2 separate regions of the Homo sapiens genome follow, and region 2 is linked to region 1. The links are contacts of gene promoters, found by promoter capture Hi-C in blood cells and fetal thymus (Javierre and others, 2016). All regions are on one chromosome and are shown on one strand. The core of a region is centred on a gene start or on the middle of the fragment in contact, and the rest is flanking DNA. Distances in the headings are between cores, read along the strand shown. Region 1 holds the start of KLHL9 (kelch like family member 9). Region 2 overlaps LOC124902130 (a long non-coding RNA gene).

Region 1 (7,073 bases), core at 2,991-5,490:
CTCATTAATAATCAAAGGATTAGGATGCACTTCTTGCTTATTCAATAAAGTTAATAATTTCTAATTTTTCTACTTTTCAAATGTACTCAAATGTGCTATTTTTAGTAATAAAAAACTGAGTAATTAAAAAAACATAGAAAGTATGAAAATTTCTGCCAATGCAGAAATCATAAACAGCATTAAAATGAATCAACACTTGTATGGGCAGTAAGGTTCAGACCCCTAGAAGCCAATTCATTTTGCCTTGGTTCCTGAGTTTTATTATGGGATTGTCAATAAGGAGAAAGTTGTTCCTGATTTACATGCTGACAATCTTCCAGGTATAGGGGGTTGTGTGTGTGTATTACACACACACACAATGTATATATAAATTTTTTTTCTTCAGGTAGACAATTATTCCAGGAAAGTACCTCTTCAGAATCACTCATTACAGAGAATTCCTGTAACTCCATTTGCTGATAAAAGTCCCATTAAAAATTACCATGTGGTTCTCAACCAATAGGGATACCTTTGGCATTGAAGAGGCTGAGGGTTGATTTTAGTACTGCTTGTAAGACCATAGTGTTCCAGAGGCTCTGTAGCTGGCTTCTTTGGGAATCTGAAGTTGGTCCTGTCTTTGAGACATGGCCAAAAGCACATTTTTCCTCACTTGATGCAGAAGAAAATGTTATCTCCTGCTTGCTCAGATCATAGCCTCGAGGCAGATCACACAGCTCAGGATGCACATGGACTGGAACAGCACCAGGGCAAGCACCCCAAATCACAAAATAATCATGTTAGGATGACTAAGTTGGGAGGCTGAACTTAAAACCCTATAGCTTTGTTCAGAATATTTTTTTCTTTGCTTTTTTCATTAAGTTTTACTGACCAAAAAGGTGGAAAAAAGAACCTAAATTTTCTGCACAAAAGCAGTTCTCTGAAACCTGAACTTTACCAATCTGTGTAAAAGTACTCTACAGAAAATACACAAGCAGAAAACAGTAATGTAAGCTTCATCTGAAGTAACGGTTTAGTCACATGACAAATTTGGTTGTCGATTTAGTATGCTGTAGCCCTTATCTATCTAAATTCAGTATGACTACATAGACATTTATTCTCTGGTACTGAATTTCCATTTGAATAGAAACGGCTGCTTTGTGGAAGAAAGAAACTTCAATTTAAAAACAATTTCAGCATCGTTGAAGTGCCAATCAGTTTTCAAATTATGTGTGTGTATACATATGTATGTATGTGTGCATGCATGTATGTTTGTATTATGTGTATTTTTTCCTCCTCTCTCCCTCTCTTGCTCGCTCTAGAGAGAGATACCAAATACTGGCTTGGTGCTATACTGTTTTTTCCTAGTTAATATTTTTATTATTTCTGTCTACGTAAGAAACTTCAAATATTCTGAATGCAACCACACAATCGAGTAAGTTGACAGACATGACAAAAACTACGAAAAGAGGGAGGTAACTAGTATTAATACTTGGCAACCTTTCGTTATTTTTAGTTTAGAGCGGCCTCCCTCTGACATTTTGGAGTCAAAGATGAAAACTCAACTTTGAAGCATAATGGACATAATTACACATTTACCACAGTCATCTACAATTTTATATAACATCACAAAAAGACATCTAAACATTTTTCTACGTCTTTTTTTCATTTGTTAAAACAGCTATGTTAAATACATTTTCAGAATGCATTTGTTAGCCACTTGATAAACATACTAAAAGCCATACAAGACGAATAACATCAGTTACCTTTATATCTAATAACTGTACCAATCACTGTAAGAAGATACAACTGAAGGGGAAGTATTAGATCACCCATGACGTACTGCAAAGGTGTTACACCTTAGACCTAAGAATGATCTGAAGGTGCTGAAAGAGGTGATTCTCTAGAAGGTGACCCAGGGTTTTCTTCAGGTGGAAAAACTGTGAGTGTACAGGCTCGAATGCCACCAAGTGACTCTGGAAGATCAAAAACTTTATGCCACTCATCTTTTTCTGGGTCATATTTCTGGACAATTTCTACCATACAACGATTATTCCAAGAATATCCACCAACAACATAGATTTTATTTTCAAAGACGGCAACTCCAACATCACTTTGGCCTCTTAACATGGCGGCAATTGGGGTCCACTGGTCAAGGGTTGGTGAATAGTATTCACAGCTTAGAACATCATCATAATCACTTGTTCCTCTGAAGTGATTGCCACCAATGACATAGAGCTTATCTCCAACTGTACACATGCAATGCAGACCTCTGACTGTAGTCATTGGAGCCTTTTGCATCCATTTATCTGTATCTGGGTCAAAACACATGAGCTCATTTTGGAAAGTGTCATGGGTAATTCCTCCTGAAATATACATTAAGCCTCCATATACTGTTCCAGCATGACCATAGTGGGGTTCACTCATTTTTGCAACATAGCTCCACTCATTCATTCTTGGGTTGTAACATTCTACTGTGGCCAGTTCACCAGCTGCACTGCGCCCACCAACTGCATACAAATGTCCTTTGAGGGCACTCAAGTGAAAGAATGTGCGCTTTTCATTTAATGATGCAACCTGCATCCATTTATTATACCGAGGATCAAATCTGAAAACTGTATCAACAGCAGTTTTTCCTTTTGTATCATAATTACTCTGACCACCAACTACATAAAGAAAGTTTCCAATGACAGCAATACCATGCTGGTAACGGGGAGCATCCATTGGGGCTAAAGATCTCCATTCTTGTGCCCTTTCATCATACATCCGTAATTCTTTACTGACAACCAGCTGCTGCCTCAAAACTCCTCCTAATGTAACCAAGTGAGTGGAGTCAGATCGAATGGCAGTTCTATCTGACTGCATCACTGGCTGCATATATGGCATCATTTGGTAATTGCTAGCTTCCAAAAGCAAATTCACGCAGGTATTGTCTGTTCTCATGAAATCTACTGTCTGCACGTAATTGATGAGATCCTGTGGTGTCATCAGTGGAAATCGAATATTCTTCATTAACTTTGCAGCATAATCCATCCGAGGGTCTTCCAACCTTAGCCAGCGACAGGCTGCCTTAAAGAGTTCAAGTTCGGTACAGTGCTTAAGACTATTACTGGAAAGCACAAATGCAAGTCGTTCAAAAGGGAGTTTTAGAAACTCCCCAGTACTCAATAAAGCAGGAAAGTTCTTCAGGATGAAATTATTAACATATTTATCCACTTCTATAAGATTGTAGGTGTTAGCAATTCGTCCAACCTCAACACAGTTATCCAAAGAGACTCCTGATATAAGAAATACTTTACAGAAATCCAAAACGGGTAATATTTGTAAAAAGCTAGCAGCTTCAAGTGTGTCCTGAAGATTGTCCATATTAAGAGAAAGTTTTGCAGTATAAATAAAATCAATGATTTTCTTCAGACCAACCTTGTTCACCCCATGAAGCTTAATGCACATCAAATCTTGTTCTTTCATTCCACCTGTGAACATGGCTTTGAAATAATCACTAGCAGACGCCATCATAGCTCTGTGAACAGGGAAGATTTCATCTCCATCACCTGGTACCAGGGTCACATCACAAAGCAATCCTTCTATTCTAAGCTGATCAAAGCCTTGCAATACCACCGAACTGTGAGTATTGCTGGTAAAAAAGCGTGTGGTTCCTGCCTTACAAGGCTGCAAATGGGCAGAGACGCCCATTTCGCCGTTACCAAGGGACACTTTCATGTGAAAGCTTTCCTCTTGCACAGAGATGCAAGCCGGATAAAGAAGTTATAACCGGAATGTTTTACAGGTAACGAGGTGTCCAGAAAGAACAGAAAGCTCGTTTCCTTATCAAGGGAAGGCAGTCACTGCGGCACCCCTCGGGCCACGCCAGTCAGTCATCCACTGAAAATCACCCTGTAGCAGGACCACAAAGGGCTGTGGACCTCAAATCTGATTATTAGACAGATGATTCATCACCTGAAGGCGGTTAAATGACCTGGTTCACCTCGTCCGGCCTGCGCTGCCGCTCCTTCAGCAGTTCCGCTTCGGGCAAGGAAGAGGCGCCGCCACGTACTGTGGCTCCACGGCCCGCTCGGCGGCGGGTCCGGACACCTCAGCGAACGGCCCGCTGCGCCCTCCGCTGTACCTAGAGTGTCGCAGCGGCCACCGGCCTGTCTTTGAGCAAGGGCCGGGAACACAGGCCTGGGCCTGGGCTTGGGCCTAGAATACCGGCCTAGCCCCAACACCGAGCCGCTCCTTCCGGAAAAGCCTAGTCCCAGGATACCACGGGGTGGGAGCGGCCTTAGCGGCTACTGCGGCTGCGCGGCCTCCAGACCTCGTCAGTCAGCGGGAGGGTGGGGGTGGGGAAGGGGGAGGAAGTACCCGGGAGGCGGGAGGGCGAGGGTTGGGGAAGCGGAGCTGTGTGGGGTGGGCGCCAGCCCGGCCTCTTAGAGCTGCCTTGTATGTGGGACCAAATAGGACAGAATGTGTGCAAGCAAGTGTGTTATGCTGCACGTTTGATATAAGTTTTTCGCATATCTGAGCTCTTACGTTCCCCAAATGCATAATTTTTCAAAGCTTTACGCTTCCTAGCTTCTGTTTTTTTGAATAACAGTGAAATGCGGCATTTGTATAAATTGAGAGGAAACCTGGATGCTTAATTTTTTTTTTCCTCTACAAAACAATAATTGTTATCCCACATTATGTAGTAGATACTTCAGTTACAATTTTGGTTCATATTTTCAAATTTGTTACAATTTCAAACGCAAAATATTTGTCTTTACTAGATTGTTACTTTATTATGTAAATGATATATTCTAAATTTTTGGCTTGAAATGCCTTTGTTTTCCACAATTTTAAAAATGGCTACATAATTTTCCAATAACTATACATACTATAGTTTCCTTTGCCCATTGGTTTGTTCCTGAATGTGTACCTTCTTATCCTCCATTGTTTTATAGACTCGGTAGTAAACTTATACAATCTGGTAGCAAAATTTTAGCCCTGTTATGGATAATATTTAGTAAAATACTGATCCAAGACAATATTTCCAAAATATTATCACCAACAATGTTTGTGTCTTTCCCTTCTTCTGACTTTTCCCTTTGTGAGTATTTTATTAACTTGCATTTCTTTAATTAGTGGTAAATTTAAATTTTGACATACAAATAAATGTATACTTTGACACAATTTCTTCCATTTTCCAAATTTTGAAGTTTCTGTCTTTTAAATCCTTCTAGTTCTTTATGCATATGCAAAGTAAGAATGTAGTCATGTTTTTCTTACACTCGCCTCGTTTTTATGTAAAAGATAGCATACCATGTACACTGTTCTGCATCTTTTTTTTTCACTTCAAGATCTTCCTGAATTAGTGTAGAGGGCTTATTTATATTTTTAAACAATTCTGTTGTTGCCTTCTGAGTTGTTACATCATAAGTTATTTAACCAGTGCCCTGTTGATGGGCAGTTCATCTGTTTTGAATGTTTTCTATTGTTTCCAAGGGATGGCAGCAAAATTCAGAAGGCTTAGACTACCACTGTCCTCCACAAGGTGCTCCAGCAGATTGTCACCTTATTCAACACAAGAGGTTGGTTGGAATGAAACTGGCCTGGAGAAATTATTCACTGAATTTTTATCAGCATTGGGAAGTCCTGGAGCCCTGCTTGTTGAATGAGTTAGGGGTGGAAGGGCTCTCTCAGGCCATGACAACTCCCTAATGCTGTGAAGAGCTACTTCCAAGGAATCAGTCTCTATCTGGAAAAGAAAGAAGAGAGCCTCTGTACATGGGAAGTTGGAGCAAGAAATCATGAGATCCTTCTTTTTTTCATCAAACTTGCAAGTAAGATTAATAGCTTAGGAACAGACTTGTGTCTTCATGAAATGATTACTATAGACACTCTTCATTATATTCCCATATGTTTAGTTATTTTAAAAGACTATCTTTTCTGCCTGCATAATGAAATGATTGAATCAAATTTGTCACAATACTTGTTGGTAATGTCAAGCAACTGTATGATAAAGCATCCAGTTCTTAGGGGCATTAGCTCACCATGGATGATATTATTAATTTACCCATGTACTTAATTATTGATTCTACTACATTTATTGTATTCAGTATTTTTGCTTGTATGAAATGTTCACTTTTAACACTGTGCTAATTACATTAAAAAGTGTTCACTTTATGTATATTTTGTTTGTTTGTTTTGTTTTGTTTTGTTTTGACGGAGTCTCGCTCTGTCACCCAGGCTGGAGTACAGTGGTGCGATCTCGGCTCACTGCAACCTCCGCCTCCCAGGGTCAAGCAATTCTCCTGCCTTAGCGTCCCGAGTAGCTGGGACTACAGGTGCGCGCCACCATGCCCAGCTAATTTTTTGTATTTTTAGTAGAGATAGAGTTTCACCATGCTGGCCAGTCTGCTCTCAAACTCCTGACCTTGTGATCCGCCTGCCTCAGCCTCCCAAAGTGCTGGGATTACAGGCGTGAGCCACCATGCCTGGCCCCTCACTTTATATTTTGAAAATTATTCTCTTTATTATTTCGAGTTTTACTTTCAGATCATTTTGCATTTGTTTATTTAAAAAAAACAAACACAAGGTCTTGCTCTGTCACTAAGCTGGAGTGCAGTGGCAGGTTCATAGCTCACTACAGCCTCAAACTCCTAGCCTCAACAATCCTCCCACCTCAGCCTCCCACACTGCTGGGATTACTGGCATGAGCCACCATACCTGGCCTTACTCAATAAATCAATGCCAAGGTTGGTTTTGCAACCTCAAGTGAAGTTCAGTTCATTCATTCCATTCACACTGTATGAAACACTTGATATGTGACTTTTCAGGATAGAAAAGTGAATAAAGGAAACACAGCTTCAGCCCTCTTGAAACTTTTTGCTGAGGGAGAAATAAAACTATTAACCAATTAATTAATTTCAACTCTATCATAAACTCAAACCATAGGCAAAAGAAAAGTGGTTTTTGTCATCAGAAACTGGAAGACTTTAAGCCTTGAAAATTGGATACACAGTTCTGGGATTTAGAGTGCATGGCTAGAGATGTTCATTTGGGAGCTGGGCTATACCTTTTTCCTGAAGGCCCAAGGATGGATGAGGTCTGGTAGAAAT
Region 2 (7,073 bases), core at 3,319-5,818, 650 kb after region 1:
ATATATACGTGTATATATATATTTGCTTCTCTGGAGGAGGAAGGTGGTCTTGAACTGGGATGAGCTCTTGAGTGGAGCCTACAGTAATCATTTGAGGAGGGAAGACTGGGGTGATGCATTCTGATAAATGACACCTCACACTTGTGTTACCAGGAAAAAAAGATTTCAGAGTCTGGAAAAGCTCCCATAATTAAAGAGAATTCCTTAGGAAGTAGCTTATGAGAGCGAGATATATGCCCTGTAATGGAGCTCCCAGGTACAGCTGTGTTAAGCCTTCATAGATGAGTTCTAGAATAGGATGTTGGGTGCAATAGATAATTATTTGAAGGCAAAGGCAATGGAGGAATAATTCCATGCATCCCTTTAATTTAGAAAAGCAATAATGTAAGGAAATTAGAGTCCCTGTCCTAGTTCTACCACCTACTTTGTTACCCTGAAAAAATGACTTTTTTTTTTTTTTACTAGCTTCAATGTCTTGATCTACAAAACGGGTATAATCACAAACATGTAAAAACAGATTGTGGTTTAGCCCCGAAGTGCCAAAGTGCTCCTGAAGCTGCCCCGGATAAAAATTCTGATAATCGAGTCCAATGTGGGTGGTAAGAGCATTTTAAACGGGAAAGAAACACTTTCTTAGGTAAATAATTGCAAGGTATTTAATTACTTATGTTCCACAAGGAAAAAAGATAGCTTCAGCATGAAAGGGAGACCTCTGAGAAAGTAGAGCAGACCTCCAAACAGATTTGCTAAGAAAAAACAATGTGTCCCTGGGAGTAGATCTCTAGAAGTTTCAAAACATTGGATGTTTCTTTCTCCCTTTTACTATTCTCTATTTAATTAAATTCAATATAGCACAATTATTTAGTATTTGCTATAAGGAAGGTACTCTTTTAGAAACTCTGTGCCAACTTCCCTCATTCAGAATTACTGTAAAATTTATCTTCCTACTCAAACTGGATCTTAGTAAGGAGTACAAAATGCAAAATTCTTTGATGTGTTGTAGATTTAATGCATAATTATAGTTAAGTCACAATTTTCAACCTTAGTTTCCAAAATGTTAACTGGGTATAGAATTAGCAGTACCTATTATCATCTTCCCAAGAATATTTTGAAGGAAACTTAAAAGTATATTACTTATTATATAGCAGGTATCTTTTCTAAATTATGTGCAAAACAAATGTGATTTTAAATCTATGTGAGAAATTTACTATTAAAATATCTCTAGGGTGTACTCTTGTGAAATGAGGGATCTTTGCAGCTCATGGAGACAATTATTCCTTAACTTTTTTGTAAATTTTTTTTATGTTGATAAATTACTTGTGGCGAATTACTTATATCTATTTGTAGCTATTTGATCAGCTGAGAACACTAAAAGATTAGCACAGTATGTATGTATGTACATACTATATGCACATATTTGGTATATATGTATATTATGTACAGCACAGATATTGAGAATTGACCTCATCCTGAGGAACAAAATAAGTAATAAACATAATTAGAGGAGATAGGCAGAAAGAAATAGAGATAATAAAAAATTCATTAAAAGTTGCCAAGAAAATAATGGCTATCATTTTTTCAACCCCCAGCTATGTGACAAGCATCAAGCAGTTTTATATGTGTAATTTATAATTCCACAGCTGTCCCATGGGATAGAGAGTATTATTCTTTCTTCATAATGCAGACAAAAAAAAAAGCTCAGAGTGCTTAAGTAATAAGGAAAAGAAAAGTTCAAACTTAAGGTTCTCAGTTCTGTTTGAGAGGTCCTCACTCTCCCTACTACAATATGTTTTCCTAATGATAATTTATCCAGTACATTGTGGACAACTCATCAATGCTTCCTTTTCTTTGAGGACTCTGCTTTAGAGCAAGTTGCAAAACCTGGGCCAAGATTACTGACTCTCCATTTTCAGAAACTACTGTGCTTCTATGATTATTCTTCAGTAGTAATACATAGTGATAGAAATTTGGAACTCAAAGACACGCAAAGTCCCCTGAAAGTCACTTAATTCAGTCCCCTCATTTTTGAATGATTTGCTTTCCTGATTAAAGCTCACATATTTAAAAATAATTAAGGAATTAGCTGCACATAGAAAATGAAAAACTACCCCACACAAAGCAATAATTATTAACATTTTGAAATACTTCTTCCTTTTTCTTTGCTTAATCTTTACATTGTGAATATTATGCAATTTTGAAATGAGCTTTTTCTAACTTATTACAGCATTTTCCAAACTTCTCCAAAAACACTTCATAAATGCTACTTTTAACAGCTGTAACACATCCCACTGGAAAAAGTTATAATTTACTTAATGATGTCCCTGTTGTCAGATATTTAAGGTGTTTCTAATTGCTACTAAAAATAGTATTGCAGTTTTTCAAAGGGTAGAAGGCTCTTGAATATATTGTAAAACTGCTTTTTAAAAAGCCACCATTTTGATTTATAGATAACAAAATGGAGGAGTGGTACATATTGAGGAACTATGTAGCTATGGTTACTCAGCTAATAAATGTTTGCTGTAGCTGTTGAAGTCAGTTCCTCTCTCCATTCTCCATTCTTTCTATGGCCACAGCTACTTAATTGGACTTAATGTGGGTGGCGGGAAATGCCAACCATATCCTTAATCATAATTTTGGAAATGACACATATGCAAGTGGGACAAGCCTAGTCTTTAAACTCAGATAGAACTGACCTCTCATTTACCAGCTCTGTGGGCTTGAATAAGTTATGTAAACTTTCTGAGCCTTTATTTCCTCACCTCACAAAGTGGGGAAAATAAAATTTACCCCATAAGGTTACTGTGAGGAATAAAGAATGTCAGATATATAAAAATCCGGGTGCACGGTAGGCTCTCAATAAATGGTGCTTTTTAATTTTTTGAGAATATATATGACATTTACTATGAAGTTATTCATTTAGGTCATCAAAATAAATGTCCTTTTGAGTAATTTTTCATTAATTCCTGTACATTCTAGCAGGTATCTGTGGTTTCAACAAGCAAATTCTCTTCTAAAAGGTATGATGCTACCTCTGAATTCTAACCCTCTGAAAAAACAGCTTCTTTGTAACAAAGTTTCCCATGTTATGACAGAAGAATTTCCAAAAAAAACCCCTCATTAAATCATGAGAAGTGACACTGGAGAGTGTCACTGTGTTCAGTGTTTCCTCTGCATTCATTGCTACCCACCTCCACTGCTTGGAGTGCATTTCAAGTGGAAGGTACAATGGAGAAACTACAGTTAAAACTGAGGAATTGCAAAATTTACTTTCTCTAAACTACTTTTCCTAACCTCCCTCTTTTTCATTCTTGATAGGACAGATTTTCCCCTCTCAAATATGCTGTCCTTTTTAATTGCTAACACAAGCATATATAATATCTCATTTCTGCTTATGCTGCTGATGTACGCATGTGCTGTTAGAGTTCTGAGATAATGTTGAAAGTCACAGATAAATAATAATGTATTCGGTTTTCACTACTGGGAGTGGAGGTTTAATATTCATGTTTCACTGATAGGTTTAACACTGGTTTAGGATACTCTAATTTCAGGGGCACCATCTACATGGAAGCTTTTCTCATCAAATGGAGAATGGTTGTCCCCCTTTTGCCCCTCTAAAAAACTATCCTTTAAAAGTAGCTTGCTTTCTTGGGACTCTATAGTCTTACTGTTATGTTCAATTTTCTGTGTCCTTTCCTGAACTTAGGAGAGTTCTGAAGCCAATCTCCCCTCTGATATTATTAAAGATTGCAAGAAAATTTTCTTGTGTTAGACCATTCTTCCCCAAATCACATTCTTCACCTGATATGTGATTCAACTCCACTCAAGGGAATCAACTTCTTGATGAAATATAATCAACTTTGATTAAATAAGTAACTGCTTCCTATTCATGTTTTAGCACTTTTCACATACAGATTTAACATTTCCACTCATGTTTTCCTTTGAGTCTCTGGGTTGAGGGTAGAGTTTTATCTTTTGTGTTGTTACGGTTAAGATGATAACTTCCATAATTAATTTTTCAAAAAGGCAATGATAACAGAATATACTGTATGTTTACTCTGTACTGATTTAAAACCCCCAAGTCAATTTAGCCTTAAGAAAGCATACTATTTAGTGTATTTTGTGTTACTCTTTGATATCCTACTTCTAAATAACTTCTTCACATTTGCATAAAAATAACTGAAGGTCACCCTCCAAGGTAGGCATTTTGAATGTCGTAAGGATGACAGTAATGTTTCTGCCTATCATTCCTTTCATCACACAGACACACACACACATAATTTTTTATACTAAAGAATTTTTAGAAAATTGTTTTGGTCAAAACTGTTGATTCAGATATTCAGACTGTGACAACCATTCTGAAGGAATTAAAAATCCAGTTATCTTCAGTGATTCCTTTGGAAATTATTATTCTGGGTTATTAGATAGATAGACTAATAACTTTTTTTCCAGTTTTCTAAAGCTACCTTGATTTCCTGTCTTAGAAAACAGGGGTTCACAAACACTGCTTAATATCTCTTTAATGATTATGAATACTAGAATAGCTTAGAGGTATACCCTAAAGGCCACCATATAGATCTTCTGTACAGATGTGAATTTAAAAGTATGCAAATTTACACTGATTTTACCTAACACCTTGGAACATACCAGGAGTCTGAATACATAAATATATTTTTATTATGATATGTATATTTTTAAAGTGGAGTTTAGAAATTTCTAGCTACACTGAAAAATTATAATGAAGTAGGTATTTACTGTAAAAAACTAATGTGCTTTCTTAAGGGCATAGTTTAATTAGGCACTATAATAACTGACAAACGTACACTGTGTAAAAGTTTACAGTGACTCTTCACACATACTATTTTATCTACCTCTTATTACGGGACTACCATAGGGTCTCAGGTTTACAGATGAGAACATGAAAGCACTGAGAGTTTCTCATACTTCATTCTGGTACCATGACAGCTAATAAGCAAAAGAAATAGAATCTGCTCACAGGTCATGTGAATGCTAAAGAAAGTAATCTTTCAACTGCACGCTTCAAGTGGTTCCTGTGCTGGTGAATAGGTATCCCACTTATTGCTTTTAAATTAAGGTAGGAATAAGTAATTTATATGTACAGTCATATGAGAATTTTTCACTGGTTTTATTTTGGTCAAAAAATAAATTTTTGAAAGATGTTAACCTCCTTTCAACCAATAAATATTTACTGTGACTTATACGGCTGATGCTTGAGTATAGTAGAGGCCCAAAGGGGTTAAGCGACTTTCAAAATAATAGTTAACTAAAAGAGATGGAACTGAAACCATATACATATTTATAGCACTCCATGGGCAACCAAGTTCAACTATATATGAATTACTAGTCAATGACTTTTGGTAGGCCATGCAACCTATCTGAGCCTCAGTCTCCAGATCTACAAAATGAAAAAATGAAACATTGAAAACATAAGGATATTGTGATAATTAAATTAGATAATGGAAGTTGAAGTGTCCTATTATTGTTAAGCTCCTCCTAATTGTTTTTGAAGAAAACAATAACTTTACCATGTGATTTAGGAAGAAAGTTTCAATAAGCTTTTAAAAATTAAATGTTAAATATAATATATTCAACTTCAACTATTCAGCATGTAAATTGCATGGAGTAAAATTCAAAGTGTCCGATGTTGGACATTTAACAATTAGATGTTCAACTGGGGGAGTCATTGTTCTCTAGACAGCTGCTGTTTCTTTAAATTGGGTGAGAGAGTTATACAATTGCTGAGTCAGATGATCTGGCAGCCTGAAAGAGAATGAGAGCAAGAAAATGGTGGCACTCGAGAAAAGAAAGCAAAACAAGCTTTTTCCTAATACATCAGCAAAGTCACTGGTGTAATATTAGACAAATTTTAGCTTAAAAGCAGAAAAATGATCATTTGAAAGGCATGATATTTTAGTTTTTCTTATAATTGTTACTTTTTAGCTTACATTTTTCATCTATATTTCCCCCCCCATCACTGTGCTTTTACAGAGACATAAAGACCCATCATTTTGTCCATAAATGCTTTATTCTGTTATGGCTACATTTTCCTGCAATCTTGCCCTGATCTTAGATAAGCATAAGTTAAACCTGTGAAACACTTGTGCTTTGATTTTTCTTTTTTACATAATTTTAGGTTGTCATGTTTATTACGAGCCTGGTCTGGATCATAAAATGAAAGAAACCCCTTATTACAACACACACACACACACACACACACACACACACACACAGAGAGAGAGAGAGAGAGAGAGAGATCCATTCATCCTGCACGAACAGAAAGAAGTGTATATAGTGTTTTAAAAAGACAACGTATCTTATATAGCTTATGTGGAAATTTTCTGTCTGGTTCTGTAAGCTTTAAAACACAAATATATCTTGTTATATTTTTTTCTCTCAAACTATGTTCTGACTGTAAAAATGTGGTATCTACAAGACATTCTTTTCCAATTCATACAAAGGGTCACATAATAATAAAGGGTCTCCTTCATTTGGTGAAATAACTCCTCCACTGATTACTCAGACTCTCCTCCCTGGGATCCAGTAAACTGACTCTAAACTTAAAATCTTACCTAAAATCCTGGACCTCAATTCAAAGATAAAGAAGCAGAAATAAGGTTTAAAAAGTAAAATTGGTCATATTTGTCAAATTGTGTCCCAATGGGCCACTTGTATTAGTATCTCCTTCAAGTGTTTATTTAAAATGCAGATTTCTGGGACCCACAGCAAATCTGAATCAAATTTTCTGAACGTGAACCCCAGAAATATGTATTTTTAAAGGCAGCCCAGGTAATAATGCTGTTGTTAACCTTTGCCATACTTTTAAAATTTCTAGTTACTCACATAATTCAATTAAGAAAGCAGAGGCTTTTTTATTTACGTTACCTTGATTGTACGATTTTATTAGTTTCAATTTGCTTAAGAGATTACATGTCTTTGTTCATGTAATTCTGAACCTCTATAAAACTTTTCTCTCTTAAAAAAATCCTACTGCCTTCACAACCATTTAAATAATTTATGATATTTTATTTTGAAGGTGAAAGAGAAAACTGAGAAAT

Evidence for each region. Contacts are between HindIII fragments. The CHiCAGO score rates a contact against its expected background, and 5 or more counts as called.
Region 2: a contact is called between a fragment that was not itself captured here and the fragment with the promoter of KLHL9 in region 1, in 1 of 17 cell types (activated CD4 T cells). The highest score is 5.1, in activated CD4 T cells.

What each region holds. Positions count from the first base shown.
Region 1 is chr9:21,331,164-21,338,236 of GRCh38, forward strand. KLHL9 (kelch like family member 9) reads right to left here and starts at 4,241. Exons shown (of 1, transcript NM_018847.4): 1 at 1-4,241. The coding sequence starts at 3,696. The coding sequence ends at 1,843. LOC107987053 (a long non-coding RNA gene) reads left to right here. Exons shown (of 3, transcript XR_001746634.2): 3 at 5,458-6,138. RefSeq lists enhancers at 3,671-3,720, 3,911-4,220 and a silencer at 4,261-4,430. The HindIII fragment of the contact is 830 bases long and covers 3,702-4,531 here.
Region 2 is chr9:21,981,186-21,988,258 of GRCh38, forward strand. It overlaps LOC124902130 (a long non-coding RNA gene), which reads right to left. Exons shown (of 2, transcript XR_007061436.1): 2 at 1-7,073. It also overlaps a transcript of CDKN2A not described here. Among named protein-coding and RNA genes, the nearest start is that of CDKN2A, 9.9 kb to the left of the region's middle. The HindIII fragment of the contact is 2,005 bases long and covers 3,567-5,571 here.